2 separate regions of the Homo sapiens genome follow, and region 2 is linked to region 1. Evidence: promoter capture Hi-C in 16 types of primary human blood cells and fetal thymus (Javierre and others, 2016). All regions are on one chromosome and are shown on one strand. Each heading gives the region's core, a stretch centred on a gene start or on the middle of the fragment in contact. The rest is flanking DNA. Distances are from core to core; before and after follow the strand shown. Region 1 holds the start of LINC02428 (long intergenic non-protein coding RNA 2428). Region 2 has its middle 47 kb from the start of LINC02503.

Region 1 (2,700 bases), core at 182-2,681:
CATATAGAAGAGAGTTTAGAAGTCAAGGGTTCAATGCATTCATCTCAATCTATTTGTGATAAAATAAGGCCGCTTAGAATGAAAAGTAATAGGTAAGCCATGTGAGTGTTTTGGCTTGGTTCTAAATCCAAGCTCTACCACTTATTATCTAGGTGAACTTGATGAATCCCTTCGATTTATCTTATCCTTGGCTAATTTACCTATAAAATAGGACAATAATGCCTGTTTTACAGGTTTCTTGGGGCTGCTCAGATGAGATAGTTCATATAAAGTATTGATCCTATCAAATGATTTAATAAAATGGTGACATTATTAAGATTTTTGGAGAGAAATACAGAGGGAAAAGATCTCACTATCAAAAAATATATAGCCTTTTTAAATGCAACAAGGAGGGTCACACATTTTATAGTATGACTTATTTATAAAGAGTTGTAACTCCTTTATTTTGTTCATAAATAATCTCTCCACAAAATAGAAACTCAACTACATTTGTAGTTTAAATTTAGTCCCACACCATAAATTAAAAGGCCATGCAATTTCTATTAACATTTTTATTAATACAAATATTTCATATCCCATATAGCCACCATATTTTCTGTTTCTCTCTCTAACATTGAGGGATATAAAGGGAAAAATGTATGGCTTACATATCCTTGGGTCACAAACAAGCAAGGATATCCCTTATTTCATGCAGACACTCTTGGGGCAATGTCCTTTTTAATCTGGTCACTGCAGCTCTAATGGCTTCTGATAACCCAGGCTCCCCTTGGAATCCTCATGGTTGGTTCTTGGCTTGTGCTCTCATCATAGACCACTGACCCTTGAGTGTTTACCATCTACTCCATCCAGCCTCCTAGCCTGGAATTTTCCACCTGCCTCTGCTAAGGGGTCACCTAAACTCACCAGAAGCTTCCTGATACAAAGCCAGCTGACATAACACACAGAGAGTTAACTGGGTACTCACTCTATCAGACTGTACCACTGTCCTCTAAAGTGAGTTTGTTATACCTTCTTCGTACAAAGTAAGTTAACCATATACACTATATCAGTTTGTCTAAAAAATGCTGGGTTTTATGATCTGGCCCAGTATGATTTCTTTTACTCTCAAAAATATTGCATTCTGGACAGCATACTGGATTGTCACCCAATAAATGGGTAAGCAGTAAAAAGGTCCTTCTCTTGCCATCCCACTTATTTATCTAAAATACCTGTGCCCGGCACCACCCCTTGAAAGACAAAAGCACAGAGAAGGAAATTAAGATGCAAAAACTGGACTGTTTAACTTGCCTCCCTGAGGTCCTCCTCTTCTCCCCTCCCTCTTCCAGACTCCAATCTCCTGCTGAGGTTTTATGACAAACGAAAGTATTTCTTCCACATTTCAGAAGACATCTATGAGCTAAGTCCTTCAGGCTGGATTGCTGGTATAATAATGAAGTAGGTAAACAAATGTTGCTTAATTCCTTCTGTAAACAATAGACTTGCAAAGTCTGTACTATTGCATAATCCTGTTTTTGCATGTGAAAAGCTAACATTTGGCTGTGTGCCTTGCTTTGCCAGGGCTTACTCTGCCCACTGGGTCATATTCCAGGGGCTAAGACTATAATACCTGCGTTACCCACCTTAAAGAGTTCCCTTTTATTAATTTCCTCTTAATGACCTTTTCAATCTTAGATCAATCCAACTGAGATCTCTTTCAAAAAGATTAACTTCAATTACTTAAATCCCAAAGGCAAGAAAGAGTGCTCCCTACATTATAAAGTGAATATGTATTAATGGAAAGATGAAACCAGAACTGAATAGGAGTAAAATTATAAAGAAAGCAACAGTTTGTCTCCAGATTGCTTACACATTTCTGGTCAGCATCTTCCTCAACACTGAGGCATGTTCATTTCCAAATGTCCTTCCTACCATTCCTCAGACAGGTTATTCTTTTTCTTAAGCCATGTATTTTGTTCTTGAAAAATATTCTTGGGTGCCATTTTATCTTTTACTAATATCTGCTCCCCCAAAAAGAAATAACTGGGGAAAATCTAACAAAATAACACAGTCTATGTACAGTATACTAAAAGACCAAGAGAAATATATAATTTTAATAAAAGACAACATAGGGATTTTAGAAATTTATTTTTAAAAATCTGGTTTCTTAGAAAATTGGTTTTGCAAATATAGTCCACTTGAATAATCTTTCTCTAAGAGGCAGAAATCCAGGGGCCTTGGGCATTTCTGTAAAAAGATTTTATCTGCACAACACCTTCACAAATCACACAAACATAACACACACATACACATACACAAAGTTACATAATTACATATCTTTATGCACAAAAAAGTGAGCTGAGTTCTGTGTGTTCTATGTGCCAAGCATTGTGATTACATACATTGATAGATCTAGATATGAGTCAAAACAATAAGAAATTAATAATAATTATTAACATTTTCCAACCACTTAACATGCTTAGCATGGTCATGATATACTTTTATGAGGTGATGTCATTGCATTTTTATAACAAATCTGTGGGATAGGTACCACTGCTATTTATACTTGATGAATGAGGATAAAAAGACTGACAGAAGTTAAATAACTTGCTCAGGATCACACAGCTAATAAGTAGGCCAGCCAGGATTTAAACCCAGACTTTCTGCTTCCAGAACCTGCACTCCCCACCACTAACCTATACTGCTTACCAGAAAGGGAAAAGG
Region 2 (2,700 bases), core at 160-2,659, 490 kb before region 1:
AACTGTCTGAGCAACATAGCAAGATCTCATCTCTACAAAAATTAAAAAACAAAAATAGCCAGGCACACTGTTTTCTGTCTGTAATCCCAGCTACTCAGTCGGCTAAGGTGGGAGGATCACTTGAGCCTGGGAGATGGAGGCTACAGTGAGCCCTGATTGCACCAATGCACTCCAGCTTGGGCTATAAAGTGAGAACCTGTCTTCAAAGCAAAAACCAAAGACAACATAAATACTATGTAAATAGTTGTTATTCTGTATTTTTTATTTGCATTATTTTTATTATTGCATTGTTTTAATTTTTAATTTTTTACTTTTTAAATACTTTTGATTCACAGTTAGTTGAATCCCCAGATGAGGAACTCACAGTTACGGAGGGCAAACTGTAGTTTTGTTTTGTTTTGTTTTAGTTTTGTTTGGTTTGGTTTTGTTTTTTGTTTGTTTTTACTGTCTTCTGTCCACTAGAGGGCACATGCCACTTGTGTTCATTTCTGACTTCCAGTTCTATTGCCTGTTAGTTCTCAATAGTAAAAAATAAGCCATTTGAAATTCCATCATGATATTCATTATTGAGATAATTTTTATTGTGTAAAACACCACATAGTAATAGCACTAGTGAGAAAAAGAAAGAACGAAGCCAGATGTAGATATTTGATATGCCTGCATACAATCAGAAGCTTGTGGATACATTAAAGATGAACTTTGGCCTGGCGCTGTAGCTCACGCTTGTAATTCCAGCACTTTGGAAGCCTGAGGCAGGCAGATCACGAGGTCAGGAGTTCGAGACCACCTTGACCAACATGGTGAAACCCTGTCTCTACTAAAAATACAAAAATTAGCCGGGCATGGTGGCACATGCCTGTAATCACAGCTACTCAGGAGGCTGAGGGAGGAGAATCACTTCAACCTGGAAGGCAGAGGTTGCAGTGAGCCAAGATCACGCCACTGCACTCCAGCCTGGGTGACAGAGCGAGACTCCATCAAAAAAATAAATAAATAAATAACTTAATAAACATCATGAATCTCCTAGATTTCTGAAATTACATGAGCTCCCAGAGCATCTACTTCTTTGTAGTGGAAGAATATGTCTAAGTATACAACTTGTAAAGGCACTATCACACTTTTAAAAAAACATAAATATCACTCCTGCCTTCTCTGATTCATTACTCCGAAAAAGCTGTTTTTATTAAGAGGTATTCCCTAGGACAACAGAGTGATATTCATGGACCCAAAAGTCTAGGAAAAACATAATTTCAAAACTTTTTTTAAAGTTTTATTTTAAGTTCCAGGATGCATGTGCAGGATGTGCAGGTTTATTATGTAGGTAAACATGTGCCATGGTGGCTTGCTGCACCTATCAACCCATCACCTAGGTATTAAGCCTTGCATGCATTAGCTATTCATCCTGATGCTTTCCCTCCCCCTACCCCCACCAGGCCACAGTGTGTGTTGTTCCCCTCCCTGTGTCCATGTGTTCTCATTGTTCAGCATGGAATGAACCCAAATGACCATCAATGATAAAGTGGATAAAGAAAATGTGGTACATATACACCAAGGAATACTATGCAGCCATAAAAAGGAACAAGATCATGTCTTTTGCAGGGACATGGATGGAGCTGGAAGTCATTATCCTTGGCAAACTAACACAGGAACAGAAAACGAAACTCTTTTTTCAGTGTGTTTTTAGTCTTTAAAAAATGATGCTTAATAACATTTGCCTTATAAAACTGAAGAGTAATAGCACAATACCTGTAATCACTATCTTCTGAGTGATTAATGAAGGTGACAATAAATAGAAACATAGGCATGATAAAAATAACTTGATTGGCATTCACAAAGTTCTTAGTGGAAAACTACAGGGATTTAAATAATTAGTTATAAATCTTCTGGTATATTTAATATTTAATGTAAACATGCCTATTTGTTTATAAACCAGAAATTTTGTGTTGAAAAATTCTACCTTAGATTAATTCTACCTCAAATACAAGAAACTCTGCTTTCAAACAACAGCATCCCATTCTTTTTTGCTATACATATATAATAAATTTCTTGTTCTATAAGTTGTGTTAACATCTATATAAATTATTCAGACATAGAGTATTTTGAAGCATGGTGGAGTCTCAGTAAATTTACAGTTAGAAGCTTATATTTGAACCACCTCTTCTCACTAGCCACATAATTAGGCCTAAAACGTCATCTATTAATTTTCAAGAGTTTTTGCTGAAAAATATGATTTTAAGATTTGTCATTTATGAGCAACAATGAATTCACCAAATTTACTTTACAATTCTTCTTGCTACTAACTGATAAAAGTACTATTGATAATGTTAGAGGAATCAGAATCACATTAATCAAGGATGAATTTCAAATAAAATACCAAAATAGAAATGCACAGTTATTGCAGAAACCATTTATTAATGATGAAGGAAGGAACACTAGGAATATTTATAGATGAAGCAGTTCTTAGACATATGAAATGAAAGAAGGAGGCTGCTGGGTTAGGGGAGAGTCAAACTGTACTGTAGCTAGGAAAAAAATATCTTTGGTAACTCACTAAAAAGCCCCAAACCAAAGATTATTCATTATTGGAACTTCTTTCTGGGCAGAAATGCCCCATTTAGTCTATCCATAATGAGAGTAAAACCCAAAATCCATGCAAAAATAGCCAAAAGCAAGCAAATGTAGTTTTCTAACATTAACATT

Evidence for each region. The method cuts DNA at HindIII sites, captures the fragments that hold promoters and counts their contacts. A CHiCAGO score of 5 or more calls a contact.
Region 2: a contact is called between a fragment that was not itself captured here and the fragment with the promoter of LINC02428 in region 1, in 1 of 17 cell types (erythroblasts). The highest score is 6.6, in erythroblasts.

What each region holds. Positions count from the first base shown.
Region 1 is chr4:103,423,773-103,426,472 of GRCh38, reverse strand. It overlaps LINC02428 (long intergenic non-protein coding RNA 2428), which reads right to left and starts at 1,431. Exons shown (of 4, transcript NR_125925.1): 1 at 1,288-1,431. RefSeq lists an enhancer at 1,202-1,703. The HindIII fragment of the contact is 12,082 bases long and covers 912-2,700 here.
Region 2 is chr4:103,913,181-103,915,880 of GRCh38, reverse strand. No RefSeq gene overlaps it. Among named protein-coding and RNA genes, the nearest start is that of LINC02503, 47 kb to the left of the region's middle. The HindIII fragment of the contact is 1,465 bases long and covers 677-2,141 here.